Linked DNA regions of Homo sapiens: regions 1, 2, 4 and 5 are each linked to region 3. The links are contacts of gene promoters, found by promoter capture Hi-C in blood cells and fetal thymus (Javierre and others, 2016). All regions are on one chromosome and are shown on one strand. Each heading gives the region's core, a stretch centred on a gene start or on the middle of the fragment in contact. The rest is flanking DNA. Distances are from core to core; before and after follow the strand shown.

Region 1 (3,471 bases), core at 357-2,856, 730 kb after region 3:
TATCTGGAGTTTTCCATGCTGGCCAAGATCTGGACACGAGCAGTCCCTGAGGGGCGGGGTCCCTGGCGTGAGGCCCCCGTGACAGCCCACCCTGGGGTGGGTTTGTGGGCACTGCTGCTCTGCTAGGGAGAAGCCTGTGTGGGGCACACCTCTTCAAGGGAGCGTGAACTTTATAAATAAATCAGTTCTGTTTACCAGTGGCTCCTATCACCTACACTTCCCAGGTGACGGCCAGACTTCCGTGGTCACTACTCCTCAAACCCTGCTGCCTCCTCCGTAGGGTGGGTCTGGGTGAGATCTGGAGTGCAGCCAGGCCGTTGATAGCGGAGCCATTGGGACACCTTGTGAGGCTGGGGGCATCCTCCAGGAGGTGGTGGGCTGGTGGGTTGTCCAGACAGGGCTACTCGCTGGCTTGGAAGCTGCAGGCTGGAGGCTGCTGACCCATCCCGAGGGCTGGGGTAAGTGCTGGGTGTGGGGCTAGGCTGAGGTGGTCTGACCAGAGAGCACCGGCTGTGGGGCTGAGGGCATGGGCTCCTGCGCAGGCCACCACGCTCAGATCTCCACTAACGTGGCAGCTGGGCAGCCCAGGGCAAGTGGGTTAACTTGCAAATGGGTTTGACCAGACCCACCTCAACGGCCTCTGGGAGGAGTTAGTGAGAGGTGCCTGGAGGCTGCCCTCTCGCTAGCTTTGGGTTTTGCCCGCACTGGGGAGGCCCTGCAGGTCTCCGCTCACCTGAATTCTAAGAGCGGCTCTTGAAAGGAACAAGGAAGGCTTGGAAGCTTTGCGCCAGGCTCCCCGCAGCCGGAGAGCTGGCACTGGGATATTACACGGCTATACCTTTGACTCAGGGCCTAGGAGGCTTTGATGTCTCACTGTACCGAAAGCTGCCTTTTAGTGTCCTGGTGGGGGAGGGGTTGTGGGGCTCCCCCGGTTTCTTTAGGGCGCAGAGGCACCCCTTCCTTCAGAAAGGAGTGGTTGGGACAGAGCCGTGGGAGCCCTGCGAGGTGGGAGCAGCTGGTGTTGTCCCAGAGTGGGTGGCTCCTGAATAACCACGGCAACAGGACACCCAGGCTACCGGGATGCCTGGGTCTCAAACGTCAGGCTGGCCAGGTCCCTTCTTATCAGAGGAGCTCAGGGCTCCTCTCTCGCCAGCTGCAGCCTCAGTCCAGGTGGGGGCTCCTCAGCAGCCAAGGTCAAAGCCGAGTCTGTAGCGGGGGTCAAAGGGGTCAGCTGGTCTGATGAGGACCAGGCTCAACTGGGGTCAGTGGACCAGCTGTGGCTTGGGGCTGCAGGGCTCAGGGAACTGGCCTTGGCCAAGGGACAGGAGGGGGCACATTGCCGTGGTCACCCAGGGAGGGACATCCCACAGGCTTCTCCCAGAATCCACACCCGGGTCGGTGGCCTCCCTGAGCCCTCCCCAGGACTCCACACCTTGACCTCAAGGAAAGGCCCACAGCTGCCAGGACCACAGGGGGCTGTTGGGTGGGTGAAGAGGGTAGGGGGGAAACGATGGAAGGCCAGGGCAGAGGAAACGACTGCCACCCACTGGCGTGAAGCGGACAAAACTCTGCAGAGGGTAAGTAGTGCTGCCATTTTTGTTTTCCCATTTTCCCATTTTTCATTTTATTATGGAAAATTTCAAACATACACAAAAGCACCGAGGCCTTTGTTGAGCAGTCTCTGTGCCAGGACTTAGGGTGCATCCGTGTGCCACACAAGCCCGTGCTCGTGGAGCCTGGGTCCTAGCAGTGGACACAGGATCCAACCGTTGTACAGTCTGGCCGGTGGAGGACGCACTGGGCTCCAGGGCAGCCCTGGGAAGCCTCCAGCACCAGTTTCAAGGCCCTTCCTGCCCCATCCATCCCCCACGCCATCCCTGCGTTGCTTTGAAGCAAATCCCAGACTTTGAATCCTTTCACCCGTCATGTTTCACGTGTGCCTCTAAAGGAAACCGCAAAAACATCACCCGCTCAAATGAACCACCGTTCTTTCATATCATCGGGGACCCAGCCAATGGCGCAGTCCTCAGGGGGTCTCGTGGTTTTGTGCAGTTGGCCTTATAGAATCGGGATCCGCCGCAGGTCCACACATCAAGTTTGCTTAATAGGTCTCTTAAGCGCCTTGTAAGCAATTTCCCTCCAGTGTCTTCATTGAAGAAGCGGAGATGTCTGTTCCGTTGAGCCCCCGTGTGCGTGGTGGTGTTGATGGCACCGTGCTGGGTGTTGTTATTGGGAGCCTGTCCCTGTATTTCCTGTAGGACAGGGTATGGGGTGCCAGAAGCGGACCTTTGATCAAGTTTGGGGTGGCCTGCAAATGGGGTTGACACCAGGCCCACCTAATGAGTGTGACAGAGATGCCAAGAAAGATCCGTTCCAGGGAGACAAGGGACTCCCTTTCCGAGTTTGCCTCGAGAACTACCCAGCAAGCTTGTGGAAACTTCCATAGACCTCACAGCGATCTAGGCCCAGGCTATCCCCTCGCCTTCACTGGGGCAGAATCGCGTCGTGGTCTAGTGGCTTCCCACCCGTTGCCACCTCCTTCCTGTGTATTTCCTTTCACACGGGCGTTTCCCCGAATGCAGTCCTTATCCAGTTCATCCCACTTGGCACCTGCTGCTCAGAGGATGTAGTGCTGCTGGACTGCATCTCCCAGGAGACAGGACTTGTAGCGACGATGTAACTTGCTGTCCCAGCGGGGACATTTTTGAGACTGGAAAGGGCTGTGGTTGATAACCAGGACCACAGGCGAGTCTCCTGGGCACAGTGGGCTGCTGATTGCCGTGTTATGAAGACCCCTCCCCACACTGTCATTCACCCAGTGCCCAGTAAAGATGAAGTGCCTGAAGTCACAGGCAAGCTGGTCCAACCCACCTTCTCTTGCTGTCGTTTTGTTTTAGGCTCTCAGCAGCCTAAAGTCATGGTTTTAGTTTCTGTCTCTAGTGATAAGCAGAAAAGAGGGATGAGGAAGGGACCCTGCTGGCTCAACCAGAAACAGAAACTAAGAATCCATGACTGTCTTCTCTCCCTTGGACTCAGCTTGAAAATGATGAGAATTGAGATTTAAGCCCTGGACTCTTTCACTTCCACATTCTTGCAATGTTCACGCCTTCCAGGAAGTGAGGCTGAGCCTGGCGGCTCCTTTGGGGACATGACATCCTTAGCAGTTCAGCATTTGAGATCAGTGAGCCTGGACAGAGCCTCACCTGGCCCAGGTGCCAGCCTGTCCTGGGCTCTGCTGTGGGGGCAGCAGGGCTCTGCTAGGAGCTCATGGTCCAGGCCTAGTCCCCACCTGGAAGTTAGAAACTGATTCCAGGGAGAAGGTGATCGTGATGTCATGTTCAAGGTGCTAAAATATAAAGCATTTTTCTTTCTTCTATAGTCAACCTCTTGACTTACTATTTTATACTTCTTATTTTATACTCACTATTTAATGCCATTCTGAGTAAGAAAGATTAGGAATTTAAGTGACTA
Region 2 (3,476 bases), core at 544-3,043, 810 kb before region 3:
AGGCTGGTCTCGAACTCCTGGCCTCAAATAATCTGCCCGCCTCAGCATCCCAAAGTGCTGGGATTACAGGCATGAGCCACCAGCCCGGCCAGTATACGCTTTGCTTTCTGCGCACAGTTCCTGCTATGAGACTCTCAGTCACTAAACAGGTCTAGTTTCTAGAAAATGCCCACCTTTCACTCTTGTAATATCAGTTTTCTGCTAATGGGCTAGGCCCCAGAAGGACTTCCAAGAAGAGCCCAAGGCACAGAAAACCGAGGGTAAATAATAGGATACAAAGTGACAAGGCTTTAACAGAGGCCTGCCCAAGCATTAGCTCAACTCGCTGTGAAAGCTTGGCAAATGTATCACTGAGAAGATGGGAACATTTGAAATACCCGTCCTTTAAGAATAAGTAGGGGTTCGGCTGGGCGCGGTGGCTCACGCCTGTAAGGCCAGCACTGTGGGAGGCCGAGGCGGGCGGATCACCTGAGTTCCGGAGTTCGAGACCAGCCTGGCCAACATGGTGAAACCCCATCTCTACTAAAAATACAAAATCAGCTGGGCGCGGCGGCGAGTGCCTGTAATCCCAGCTACTCGGGAGGCTACGACAGGAGACTCTCTTGTACCTGGGAGGCGGAGATTGCAGTGAGCCGAGATCGTGCCACTGCACTCCAGCCTGGGAGAAAGAGGAGACAGAGCAAGACTCCATCTCAAAAAAAAAAAAAAAAATTAGTTCATGGGCGAGGTGGCTCACGTCTGTAATCCCAGCACTTTGGGAGGCCGAGGCGGGTGGATCACTTGAGATCAGGAGTTCGAGACCAGCCTGACCAACACAGTGAAATCCCCGTCTCTACTATAAATACAAAAATTAGCTGGGCCTGGTGGCGGACGCCTGTAATCCCAGCTACTTGGGAGGCTAAGGCGGGAGAATCGCTTGAACCCGGGAGGCAGAGGTTGCAGTGAGCCGAGATTGCGCCAATGCACTCCACCCTAGGCGACAACGCGAGACTTCATCTCAAAAGAAAAAGAAAAAAAAAGAATTAGGGGTTCTCCACGTGCAGCTGGGAAAGACGTTCCAACAATCCTCATTTGTACCAGGCCCTTTGGTGGGCCAGTCCCTTAGGGCATCTCTAATGCTCCTAATGTCCATCCTAGAAATTCAGGGAGGGAAAGAAAGTGCTGGGGCGAGCATGGGTCAGGAGAGAATAGGGTCAGGATTTAGGGCCCTGAAGAAGCCTCGGGCAAACTCTTTGGACAGACAGACCTTCCAAGAGGGCCCTCAGGCTCCGCACGTGGTCTGGGCGGGAAGTGCGGGCAGAGAGACTAGGAAGCCTTCCCAGCAGCGCCGGCGGACCGGGGCAAGGAAAGGGTCGAATAGTTACCATGCCATTCTGGGGCCGTCCCTCTGATTGGCCCGAGCTCCCTCAGCCCGAGTCGCGGCGCTCCAAGGAAGGGGGCGGAGTCTCTATGTTGCGTCACCACCCTTCCCGACACCCCGCCGGTGCTTCCCAATCTAGCCATTCACAAGCCCACTTCGAGAGGCCCTGTGTGACGTCACGACACGCTCCCGCCAACCGCGGCGGCGAGGGGCGGGACTCCACGGCCCTCTCACCGCTCCTACCCTGTGCCTCCCCGAACTCCTTCTGCCCCTCCTCTTCCCTCTCGCCCCTTCCCCCTTCAGTTCGGTTTCAAAAGACGCGTTGCCCAATGAATAACAGGGTCGACCCAGAGTGGCGGCCGCGTCCACCAATTCGCGGACGGCGAGGGCGGAGCGTCCGCAACGAGCCTCTGACGCCGGGCGGCGTGTGACGCAGTCGGGCCCTCTGCGCGCTGCGCCCGAAGCGGCGGTCGGTGGCAGGGGTGGTAGCGGCGGCGGCGACGGTTTCGTGGGGGCCGCGCGCTGCTCTGTGAGCGGCGGGTGGCAGCAGGGGACTCCTGACACTTCCCCTTCCCCACCGAACCGCGGTAAGTCGGGAGCCCGAGCTGCAGCGGCCGAGACCGGCAGGTTTCTCCCCCCTTCCGGGCGGGCGGACGCGCGGGGCGTCTCAGGGCCTCTCCGCTTCGAAGTCTAGCGCCGCTGCGCGCACCTTCTGGCCTGAGAGAGGGGCGGTGCTGAGGACCCGGGGGCCCGGAGCCCGGGAGGCCCGGCTTTGGAGGCCCTGGGAGAGAATGGACATCAGTGGGGTCTAGGCCTGGAGGTCTCCAGTTGCTGCCCACGCGAGTGGGTGTCTGTCTGGTTGTACTCATTCATTCAGTGGTGTAAGGACCCCACGGTGGGCTGGCCTTTCCGGGGTCAGCGCCTTGAAACCCTGAATACGGTCTGCCCCGCACTTCCTTGACCGTCATGTGGGACTGGGCTTTATTTGCCTTGGCTTCTCCATAAGGGAAGTGGGCACCCCGAGGATTAGGGTGAGTCCGAAGTTTGGGAGATTTTTAAGATAATATCTGAGAATAGGAGTCGGTTCGGTGGAGCAAAAGGTTCTTTTCTATTTTCCCACGTGTTCAGTGTAAAGCCAGATGAGGAGACAGATTGAGTTTCTGGATTACTATAGCCATAAGGACTTTAGAAATTGTTTAAGTCAATCCCCCTACCTTACATCAGTTTTGTAGATGGGGAAACCGAGGCCCGGAGTAACAGGCAGGATTAGCCAATGCCAGATTTTTGACAGTCTAAACAGTTTTCTACTACCTCACCCTCCCTGGATATTTCAGTCTCCCATTATTAAGAATTCCCTTTAGGAGGTCGGTGCGGCATGGACATTAGGTAGCTAAACGTAGATGTAGTCTTCACAGCGTTTTCCGTTTAGTTGCTACCAGCTCTGTTCACGGGTAAGGTGGAAGCTTCGTTAGTGGTACCCTAACCTAGAGCTTGAGAACTAAACTTAGAAGATGGTTAAAGAACGTCAGCGTTGTTATGTATCGGAAACAAATCGGTAAAACTACAAGCCATTGTTTCCCTTTCTAAATCTGAATTTTTTGACTTGTGTCAGCTGATGAGGACTCGGAGTCAGTTAGGGATTTATAACAGTACTGGAATAGAAAGCAGGAAATATTGATAAGACTTAGAAAGCCAGGTAGGAGTCCGTTTGTAGTAGTTGTACCTCGGAACTCATGGCTCCTTTCAGGTACAGAATTCAAAGTGAAGTATTATAGTAGAATAAGGTGAGGAAATAAAACTCCGTTTTGGAGGAAGAAGCTAACTGGAATAAAGAGCAAAAAGAGAGCAGTGATCATTCCCTGTGACGGTCTTACAAATTCGAAAAGAAACTCGAGTTAACTGGGTTACAGTATGTTTACCTGGTGGAGGAAGTTAGGGTATTTAAAAACCAAAACTAGAGGTTGGACAGGATAAAGGTACTGGGAAATACTTGGGTAAAATTATTCTTTTTGACTCTTCAGATTTGATGAAATTGAATTAGTTGACACTTGGTTCTGTACACATCAGTAAGATTGTTACTTTGTTCTTGTATAGATGACAAAGCATAAACTCAGAA
Region 3 (3,527 bases), core at 697-3,196:
CTAAAACACAGATGGCCAGACAGGACTGAGCACGCTGTGTGGGTCAGGCCTCAGCCATGCACCGGTCACCTCTGAGGGGTTTTTATGTTTTTTGTTTTAATTAGTTTTTTTTTTATTTTTTATTTTTTGAGATGGAGTCTCGCTCTGTCGCCCAGGCTGGAGTGCAGTGGTGCGATCTCGGCTCACACTGTAAGCTCCGCCTCCCGGGTTCACGCCATTCTCCTGCCTCAGCCTCCCGAGTAGCTGGGACTAGGGCGTCCGCCACAATGCACGGCTAATTTTTTTGTATTTTTAGTAGAGACGGGGTTTCACCGTGTTAGCCAGGATGGTCTCGATCTCCTGACATCGTGATCGGCCCACCTCGGCCTCCCAAAGTGCTGGGATTACAGGCTTGAGCCACCGCGCCCGGCCTTTTTTTTGTCTTTTTGAGACAATGTCCCCCTCTGGTTACCCAGGCTGGAGTGCAGTGGCCCAATCTCTGCTCACTGCAGCCTTGACCTCACGGGCTCAGGTAATTCTCCCACCTCAGCCTCCCAAGTAGCTGGTATTACAGGCCTGAGCCACCACGCCTGGGTAATTTTTTGTTGTTGTTGTTTTTGGAGCAGGGGAAGGGTGCTCTATGTTGCCCAGGCTGGACTTGTTGCCTCTGCCTCCCAGAGTGCTGGGTTTACAGGCCTGAGCCACGGCGCTCCGCATTAATTTCTTTTTAGAGATGAGGTTTCACTATGTTGCCCAGGCTGGACTTGAATTTCTGGGCTCAAGGAATCCTCCTGCCTCAGCCTCCCAGCTTACCTCTGAGGTTTATAACCGACGCTATGTTCTTAATCCCTCAACCAGGAGCCTTTAAATGGTTTCAAATTTTCCCCATTACAGGAATAACTTGCTAATAATAATAATAATTAGCAATTGTTTCAAAAGTAACGTCATCCCAAAAGAGAACGTTTCTGAAAAAAATGCACATTAGACTTGAAGACCCCCAATGGCACGGTTGAACATGGAAATGAACCAGCCTCAAAAGTCCCAGCGTAGGGGTTATTTTCCAATCAAATTGGATGCCTTTCTACAAAATGTGATGTGCACAGGCTGGGGCTGGTACCTTCACCCCAGCCCAGAGGGCACCATGAGAGGGAGAACAGGGCGGGCGAAACAGGCCAGCTCCTCCCCAGCCCTCTGCCCTGCTCTGCTTCAGGGGGCTGATCTGAGGGCCCAGTGCGCACTGCTTTTCCTCCTTGTCCGACAGGGTCTCCCGCAGGCCAGAACTAGGCTGCTGGGACACTGCGGGGCTCAGGGCGTGGGGGAAGAGATGCAGGCAGTGGCTAGTCCCGTCCTGTCCGCGGAGGTGACCCAGCCCCGACCTCTTCGCAGAGGAAGTGTTCTCCAACCTGGGACCTGGGGGATGAGCGGGGGTTAGGCTTACGTCCCAACCACTAACGGGGCTGGTTGAAAACGGCTCCCAGGCGGAGGGGCCCTCCGCGATGTTCTCAAGGAGTAGCGCGAGGGGACGACATGGGAGGTGGGGTTCTCACATCAGCGGGCGCACGGAGTGCTGGAGGCACCGACCCGCCGCGGACGGGATTGAACTAGGGAACTGGGAGGGCGCAGGAGATAAAGACGGCTGGGGCCGGGGCCCACGGAGAGGGGTGGTGCCCAGTGTCCCGCGAGGATGTGGTGCCACCCGGGGAAGGTCCCGGGAGCGGGGACCCGGGACCCCCCGGAACCACACACGCGGTCTCCACCTTGCCCCGCCCCATTTAAAGAGGCGGAGGAACGCAGGGCGCGCGCCGCGCGGAGGAATATTTGCATATGGCGCGGCGTTTCTTCGGAGGCTTGTGATTGGTTGCTGACTGCGGCGCGAAGCGCAGTTGACTTGCGCCGCGCTCGGCGAATCGCAGCCTGTCTTGCTCGCGGAGAGAGGAGCTAGGAGCCTCGGCCAATGGGAGCCGGCGTTGTTGGAGGCCACGGCGGCGCAGCCCCAAAGCGAGCGAAGCTAGGGTCGCCGCCACTGCCGCAGGAGGCGTGAGGTGCGGAGACACGGGTGCTGGGCCGGTAACGGCGCGCTGGGGAGGGCGGCCGGGCCCGGACGGGCGGGTGGGGCCGCGGGTCCGGCGCGGGCGCGGCGGCGGCCATCTCTGGAAGCCTCGGGGCGGTGGGGCAGGGGCGGGGCCGCGTTCTGGTCGGGGCAGGCAGCGGCGGCCGCGGCGGGGCCTGGGGCTTGGGGCCTGGAGCCCGGGCCTGGGGCGCTGGCGGGAGGCCCCTCCCAACTCCCGGCGCGCCTCGCCCGGCTGCCCGCCTCACTGAAGGTCAAGGCGCTTTGTTCTGCGCCGCGGGCGGCCTCCTGGGCGGCGGCCCCTTGGAGGAGGCGAAGACGGCGAGAGGCGGCGGCCGCTCAAATCTCCCGCTAGCCCAGCCCGCCCCGCGTGCGGGGGCTGTGGCGGTTACACGGCCGGGCGCGCCGGAGCGTTCAGGCTTCCCGTTTTTAAGGTGGAGACGTCCAGGACTTCTTTATTAGATGTTTAGGAATTTGAGTTTTTCCGTAGGGCGGTTGTCATCGTGAGCCTCTGTGGGGTCAGGCTGGGCTAACTGGGGTTTTGATGTCAGTTTGGTGTGGCCGAGGGCATGTCTGACGGGGAAGAAAGTCCTTGGCGTTGCTTCTTAGCTGTTGGGAGCTGTGCGGTGGGAGCGAGCTGGGCGGCGTGCGCTCCCCGAGGACTGGCCTGAGTGGCCTTAGACTAGTTACTCACGGGACTTGGTTTCCCAGCCAAGGTGGGCAGCAAGTCTGTTTACTATTTAAAACCGTCTTTCACAAGGGAAAAGCAAAATCTCCAAAAAAAAAAATTGTACATGTTATGGATGGGAAAGTGCCATGCTTTTCTTTCAGTTCAGAGATGGTGGAAGAGGTCACATTTGTATTTTTTGACCTGACCAGAGTCTTTGTTGTTTTCAATTTTCCCCTTCTGAATGCTTTCCGTTCACCCCAGCGAAGGATGGCCTGGTCATGATAAGACTTTCCACCGTCCACAGTTCTCTAAGTCTGATTGCGGGGCAGGAGGCAGACATGTTTAGGGTCCAGTAAAGGGGACTCCAGCCTTGGGACCTTTAGACCCTAACGTGTGTGTCACATCACCTGCCTGGGTGACTGTGCGCTCCTCTGGCAGGAAGGTCCGCCATTTCATTATGTTCTCGGAGGAATCGTCGGGGCACATTCGTCTGTGCTTTGGTTCGCATCCCCCAGTCTGCATTACTTTTTCCTGTAGTAACCCGTGCCTTATCCTCCTGCATTAGGTTTACGGGGTGAAAATAGACTTTTAAAAATTCTCTTACCTTAGAAATATACAAATATGTAGATTAGGTTGTTGGACCTTAAAGGTAAGTCTTTCTAAGTTACTACCTTCCTGTAATAGTAACTATACCTCTAAATGACTAATACCTGCACTGCGCACCAGGGACTCTTTCAGCCTGTTTGCGTGTGTTAACTCATTTCATAATCTAATAACCTGAGATAGATGCTATTGTTTTTCCATTTAACT
Region 4 (3,309 bases), core at 619-3,118, 700 kb after region 3:
TGATGTGTTTGCTCCCTGTCCCCACAACTCTAGGTCCTCTTGGTGTAGAAGTCTGAGTTCTCGAGGGAGGAGAGTTTCCCGCAGAGACACCAACGGCTCCACCAGACTGGAAGGTGAGATTGCACCAGGCCATTTTGGGATCCTCACTGCAGAGAATCAATAGGTAAAAAAGGCAGTTACTGCCCGGGCCACGGGACTGATTTTATCGGGCGGAATCGGCCGGGTTGCACAAGGAGGATGAGGAGGAGCACGTCTGGAATGCGGAGGGTCCCCTGCAGCGCCTCTTAAGGTTCCCATGTCCTGTGATTAAAATCATGGAAAACCATCACCCCTGATCCAAGCAGGGTCATTCAGGACCCAGGCTCTCCAGGAATGAAGGCTTAGGGCATCCCACCAGGCAAAGAGCCACATCAGCTGAGTGCTTGCGGAGGCGAAGGCTATGCGGGAGACGGAGGCTGAAACGCTAGTTCCCGCTGCTCGGCTGCTGCAGAAACGAAGCCTATCACAGGTGTGCGTGTTTCTTATTTTGATCCGAGTGTATTGGGTAGGACCACATTAGCCACTGTTTCTTCTCCTCTTCCATTCCCTACCACTTCATACGGTACTAGTGTATGAAGTGTACGTTTGATAGTAGTTGATATTTAATTATTTCAAACATCTCAGTGTTTAAATTTTAGGCTATCAGGCTGGGCACGGTGGCTCAGGCATGTAATCTTAGCACTTTGGGAGGCTGAGGCAGGCGAATCACCTGAGGTCAGGAGTTTGAGACCAGCCTGGCCAATGTGGTGAAACCCCGTCTCTACTAAAAATACAAAAATTAGCCGGGCGTGATGGCCCGTGCCTGTTATCCCAGCTATGTGAGAGGCTGAGGCAGGAGAATTGCTTGAACCCAGGAGGTGGAGGTTGCAGTGAGCCGAGATTGCACTACTGCACTCCAGCCTGGCTGACAGAGTCTGTCTCAAAAAAAAAAAAAAAAAAAAAAAAAAAAAATTAGGATATCAAAGGGAGAATGAGAATCAGCTGAATCCCATTCCAGCTGAATCCTATTCCCCCTTTGATTTTTTTTTTTTTTTTTTAAGGGGAAGAACACCCAGAGATGAATCAGGATCAGGGGCTCTCCTCTTCTCTGGGGGAGAGGGGGACATGCTGTTCTCTTGTATACGCTTGGCCACATCTTGTTGGGTGGAAGAGGGATTTGACTTTGTCTTTATTTGGAAGTTAAGTATGATTAAAAATTGTGGGTGGGGAATCAGAGGACCCCATTTGTATGAAATGTCCAGAACGTGCAACTCCATGGAGGTGGGAAGTGGGTCAGTGTTTGGCAGAGGCTGGGGCAAGGGGAGCGGCTGCTAGTGAGTGGGGAGTTGTTTTTGGGGGTGCTGCGGGTGGCACGCCTCTGTGAAAATACTAAAGCGGGGAGTTGTTTTTGGGGGTGCTGAGGGAGGCACGCCTCTGTGAATATACTAAAGCGGGGAGTTGTTTTTGGGGGTGCTGCGGGTGGCACGCCTCTGTGAATATACTGAAGTAGGGAGTTGTTTTTGGGGGTGCTGCGGGTGGCACGCCTCTGTGAATATACTGAAGCGGGGAGTTGTTTTTGGGGGTGCTGAGGGAGGCACGCCTCTGAATATACTAAAGCGGGGAGTTGTTTTTGGGGGTGCTGCGGGTGGCACGCCTCTGCGAATATACTAAAGCGGGGAGTTGTTTTTGGGGGTGCTGCGGGTGGCACGCCTCTGAATATACTAAAGCGGGGAGTTGTTTTTGGGGGTGCTGCGGGTGGCACGCCTCTGAATATACTAAAGCGGGGAGTTGTTTTTGGGGGTGCTGCGGGTGGCACGCCTCTGTGAATATACTAAAGCGGGGAGTTGTTTTTGGGGGTGCTGAGGGAGGCACGCCTCTGCGAATAAAGTGGGGAGTTGTTTTTGGGGGTGCTGCGGGTGGCACGCCTCTGTGAATAAAGCGGGGAGTTGTTTTTGGGGGTGCTGCGGGTGGCACGCCTCTGTGAATATACTGAAGCGGGGAGTTGTTTTTGGGGGTGCTGCGGGTGGCACGCCTCTGTGAATATACTAAAGCGGGGAGTTGTTTTTGGGGGTGCTGAGGGAGGCACGCCTCTGAATATACTAAAGCAGGGAGTTGTTTTTGGGGGTGCTGCGGGAGGCACGCCTCTGTGAATATACTGAAGCAGGGAGTTGTTTTTGGGGGTGCTGCGGGTGGCACGCCTCTGAATATACTAAAGCGGGGAGTTGTTTTTGGGGGTGCTGCGGGTGGCACGCCTCTGAATATACTAAAGCGGGGAGTTGTTTTTGGGGGTGCTGCGGGTGGCACGCCTCTGTGAATAAAGCGGGGAGTTGTTTTTGGGGGTGCTGCGGGAGGCACACCTCTGCGAATAAAGTGGGGAGTTGTTTTTGGGGGTGCTGCGGGTGGCACGCCTCTGTGAATAAAGCGGGGAGTTGTTTTTGGGGGTGCTGCGGGTGGCACGCCTCTGTGAATATACTGAAGCGGGGAGTTGTTTTTGGGGGTGCTGCGGGTGGCACGCCTCTGTGAATATACTAAAGCGGGGAGTTGTTTTTGGGGGTGCTGAGGGAGGCACGCCTCTGAATATACTAAAGCAGGGAGTTGTTTTTGGGGGTGCTGCGGGAGGCACGCCTCTGTGAATATACTGAAGCAGGGAGTTGTTTTTGGGGGTGCTGCGGGTGGCACGCCTCTGAATATACTAAAGCGGGGAGTTGTTTTTGGGGGTGCTGCGGGTGGCATGCCTCTGTGAATAAAGCGGGGAATTGTTTTTGGGGGTGCTGCGGGAGGCACACCTCTGCGAATATACTAAAGCGGGGAGTTGTTTTTGGGGGTGCTGCGGGAGGCACACCTCTGCGAATATACTAAAGCGGGGAGTTGTTTTTGGGGGTGCTGCGGGAGGCACGCCTCTGCGAATAAAGTGGGGAGTTGTTTTTGGGGGTGCTGCGGGTGGCACGCCTCTGCGAATATACTAAAGCGGGGAGTTGTTTTTGGGGGTGCTGAGGGAGGCATGCTTCTGTGAATATACTAAAAGCCCCTGAATGGTACAGTTAAAACAGTGAATTTTATAGTATGTGAATTATATTTCAATAAAGCTGTGTAGAAAACAAGAGGTACAGGTGGAAGCCCATGGGAGGGATTGGCACAGTGTCGCCCTAGCTGAGCGGGATGTTCATCTTCCAGGACTCCCGGAGCTGCCTTGTTAAGGGTAGGGTGGGTCACACGTGGCCTGAGCCAGCTCTGGGTGGTGGAGGGATGAGGCAGCCACGCTCTTTTTAAGCCTGGAAGTTTGCTCAACGC
Region 5 (3,331 bases), core at 284-2,783, 550 kb after region 3:
CTGCCAGCAGGCATGGACAGGCCTCTGGATGCCCTCCAGCCAGTTCTCTACTGAGCCTGCCCGAGGCAGAGGAGATGCTTCCACCTGAGGACGCTCAGGGAGACCACCCTTCAGCCCTCAGGTGAGCCCCACAGCCATCAGCCATGGGATGTCTGGGTAGAGGCTCCCAGGCCAGAGGCTGGCACCACACCAAAAGGCCGCTGGCTGGGCAGCCAGGAAGTAGGGCCACTGGGGCAGCGGGGGAAGGCCCCAGGCAGGCATGGAGGAGAGCAGCCTGGACCTTCCCGGAGGTGACTTCCCAGGCCTGTCCCTGAGAAATCCAGTGCCCAGCCCTGCTCAGGCACGCTGTACCGGGAATTGGAACCACCTGGTAACAGGGGGGCCAGGTGCCTCTGCTACCAGCGCTGCTTTCTCCGGGAGCACAGCTGCCTCTTAGTGAGAGCTGCAAACGTGCCTCTCCGCTCTCTGCATCAAGCCAGGTTTTCATGAGCTTGGTTCAATTAGTTAATGTGGGGCCCGTGGGGACGGCCCGTGGCATGCTGAGCCCTCAGGGAGCACCGCCACCGTCACCTTCCTATCCTGGACAGCCCCCTGCCCCAGAGTCCACCTGGGCCTCAGGGGGTCTGAGATGCGGCACCGGACATCAGGGGCCTTCTCTCTTGGGGGCTCCTGAGCCTCGAGTCTCAGCCGACCTTGAGGAGTTATCTTACTGCACCCAAGGGTGCGCTCCCCAGCACGCTTCTCTTCCCAGAAGGATTCACACCTGGACTACCCTCCCGGAGGTGTGGAGCCAAATTCTGGGCTCCAGGTGGTCCCCTCCCCAGCCGGCTCCCTCCCCACGCCGGGCCTGCGAGAAGATGCGCACCCCCAGACACAGCAGCGCCTCTGAACTTCAAGGGAGAGTGCAGAGTTTGTGTTTCTGCGTTTCCCCACTTCCTTCCCTCCTCTGCTCCGGGGTCGCAGCTCCGACGGGGCAGGTGGCGCTGGGACAGAGCTCCCCCACACCAGCTCTCAGGAAGCACCTTCGTGCCGGCCGTCGCCGGTGGCGATACTCACACGGCGAAGTGGTAAACGAAGCATTTCCAGCCGGTGGGACGCTCGAGGAAGTTGTAGACGCGGCCCTGGACGTGGGTGCGCGCCAACACCGGGCGGCGCGTGCTGTAGATGGAGACGCGCGGGTCTAGGCTCACCGGCGGCCGCGGGCCAAGGTCGGAGGCAACTGGGGGCGCGGCGGGCGCGGCCGGGGACGCAGGGGGCGCGGGACCTGGGGCGCCGGGCGCGATGGGCGCGTAGAGCGCGCCGCCCGCCGGGCCGCCCTCCGCCAGCTCCAGCGAGAAGGGGCACTTCTTGGCCAGGCCCGCGCTGCCCCGCCGGGCGCCTGGCAGGCGGCCCCAACCCCAGCGCTTCCTCTCGGCCCTGGGCGGGGAGGAGGCCGCGGCCATAACGAGGAGGGCCTGCCGGGGGGCCGGCCCGAGCGGCGGCACCGGGAGCTGCAGCGAAGGCGAGCGCCCGGGCGCAGTGCGGGCAGCCACTGCTGCCAGCCCCGCCGCGGGGGGCCGCTGCCGGCCCAGCCCGGGCGCTCGGGGCGGGGCCGGAGGGGGCAGTGGCCGAGGGCCGGTCCCATGGGACGGCGTGCCCCGCCCCCGCCTGCACGCCCCGCCCCCGCCGGTCCGGCGCGCACAGGGCGTCCCTGCCCGCGCCCACCGGCTTGGCCCGCCCTCTCCCCACGGACCGGCCTGGCCCTGCCTCCGCCTCACCCCCTGGCTTGGCCTGTCCGCGCCCCCGCCCCCGCCTGCGCCCCCGCCCCCACCCCCACCCCCGCCCGAGCCCACCTGCTTAGCCCCGCTCGTGTCATCTATCCCGCTTGGCCCCGCCCCCTCCTCGCCCACCTGTTTGGCCCCGTTCCAGTGTGCATTTACCCCGCCTGGCCCCGCCCCCTCCCCGCCCACCTGCTTGGCCCCGCCCTCACCCACCTGCTTGGCCCCGCCCCGTCTGCATCTCCCCTGCTTGCTCCTGCCCTGCCCTCACCCACCTGCTTGGCCCCCACTTCTGATGCCCGCCTGCTCTGCCTGGCCCGGAGGAGGACCCCAGCTGCGCCAGGGAGGAAGGGGTAAGGCCTGGCCGATACCACGACCGAGAACGGCACAGCGGGGGCAGGAGGGGCGGGGTAGGGTGCCGGCATCTACTTTCCCTCCCTCTGAGCCACTCCGGAGTTGGGGTTGGGGGGAGGAAAGGGATGTCCTGGGTGAGGGTGTGCTGGCCCCGCGATCACTGTGAGCGCCCCCGGGTGCCCAGGCGCGCGAGCTGCGGGCGGCGAATACGCTCGGGTCGCTTCCCACCAGGGCCCTTGGACCGGGAGGGTGAGATGGGACCACCACTGTCAGGTACCTCCCAGTGGGAGCTGTGTGGGTGGGGAGCCGGCAGGGCTGCTGGGGGGTGGGGGCGGCACAGCCGGGGTCTGGACCTGGTTTGACTGCCGGGCATAGCAGGCGGGGCTGCCTGGGCAGTTAAAGGGAGAGGCGCTTGCGCCACCCTAGTAACTTGGAGAATGGGCGCCTTGTCCTCCCCACCGTCGAGACCGCGCTGCCGCTGCGCCCCGTGGATTCCCCTGGGTGGGGGTGGGTTGGTCACATCGGAAGATTTTCACAGGTCTCTGCACTGCCTCCCGCCCGCTACTGGCATTTGGGTCTCAGCACGTCTCAGGCTTGGGGGGGGGGTGGGGGGCAGCCAACAGAAGAGACCGGCTTTTTTCAGGATACTGCACACAGCCCTGAGGCAGGGACTAAAGGTGGAGCTCAGCGGTGACTCTCCGCCCCGCCAGGAGACCCATAACTCATGTGACACTTCCAGGTCGTCCCTGAGCACCCTGGGTCAATTTGATGTATCTACCACCCCCTGCCAAAAGTCTGCTCTTTTATCGTGGACGGAGTCCAGCCCAGGCCCTTGACGCCTGACTCCCCACCCTAGTGAGGTGCCACACAGGAGTGCACAGTCTGTATTTGCAGCAAGAGTGGATGGAGTGGGTCCCAGCTTGTGCTGGGCGCTGTGATAACACAAGGGAGGCCGAGGAGAGGGTACCTTCCTGGGAAGCATATCAGTGAAGGTGCAGAAGGGCAGCGGGTCAGAAGATGGGGGCAGTCAGTCAGCTCTGCAGGGCACACAGCACGCATTCAGCAGTTACTTTCCGGGTGAACATACATACACCTGCATGGAGTCTCTGCCTTCCCCTCCCACCTCAGCAGGAGGAAGGTGAGCTTTGAATAAGCAGCGTTTGGACAACTGGACAGTCATAAAGAAAGAAAAAGCATACCTTGGGTCCATCTCACCGCAC

What was found. Contacts are between HindIII fragments. The CHiCAGO score rates a contact against its expected background, and 5 or more counts as called.
Region 1: a fragment that was not itself captured here is called in contact with the fragment with the promoter of NAP1L4 in region 3 in 1 of 17 cell types (neutrophils); the score reaches 5.7 in neutrophils.
Region 2: the fragment with the promoter of NUP98 here is called in contact with the fragment with the promoter of NAP1L4 in region 3 in 1 of 17 cell types (activated CD4 T cells); the score reaches 5.1 in activated CD4 T cells.
Region 4: a contact is called between a fragment that was not itself captured here and the fragment with the promoter of NAP1L4 in region 3, in 1 of 17 cell types (monocytes). The highest score is 5.2, in monocytes.
Region 5: a contact is called between the fragment with the promoter of KCNQ1 here and the fragment with the promoter of NAP1L4 in region 3, in 3 of 17 cell types (activated CD4 T cells, neutrophils and non-activated CD4 T cells). The highest score is 7.7, in activated CD4 T cells.

What each region holds. Positions count from the first base shown.
Region 1 is chr11:2,265,221-2,268,691 of GRCh38, reverse strand. ASCL2 (achaete-scute family bHLH transcription factor 2) reads left to right here. Exons shown (of 2, transcript NM_005170.3): 2 at 1-194. Among named protein-coding and RNA genes, the nearest start is that of ASCL2, 3.6 kb to the left of the region's middle. The HindIII fragment of the contact is 1,647 bases long and covers 783-2,429 here.
Region 2 is chr11:3,795,871-3,799,346 of GRCh38, reverse strand. NUP98 (nucleoporin 98 and 96 precursor) reads left to right here and starts at 1,793. Exons shown (of 33, transcript NM_016320.5): 1 at 1,793-1,947. It also overlaps a transcript of PGAP2 not described here. RefSeq lists silencers at 1,777-1,946, 2,027-2,116. The HindIII fragment of the contact is 2,489 bases long and covers 337-2,825 here.
Region 3 is chr11:2,990,748-2,994,274 of GRCh38, reverse strand. NAP1L4 (nucleosome assembly protein 1 like 4) reads left to right here and starts at 1,946. Exons shown (of 16, transcript NM_005969.4): 1 at 1,946-2,021. RefSeq lists enhancers at 1,682-1,976, 2,521-3,377. The HindIII fragment of the contact is 4,981 bases long and covers 1-3,527 here.
Region 4 is chr11:2,290,724-2,294,032 of GRCh38, reverse strand. No RefSeq gene overlaps it. Among named protein-coding and RNA genes, the nearest start is that of C11orf21, 9.5 kb to the left of the region's middle. The HindIII fragment of the contact is 7,512 bases long and covers 1-3,309 here.
Region 5 is chr11:2,443,210-2,446,540 of GRCh38, reverse strand. It overlaps KCNQ1 (potassium voltage-gated channel subfamily Q member 1), which reads right to left and starts at 1,533. Exons shown (of 16, transcript NM_000218.3): 1 at 1,057-1,533. The coding sequence starts at 1,442. TRPM5 (transient receptor potential cation channel subfamily M member 5) reads left to right here and starts at 2,027. Exons shown (of 29, transcript NM_014555.4): 1 at 2,027-2,110. RefSeq lists silencers at 1,544-1,613, 1,624-1,733. The HindIII fragment of the contact is 13,739 bases long and covers 1-3,331 here.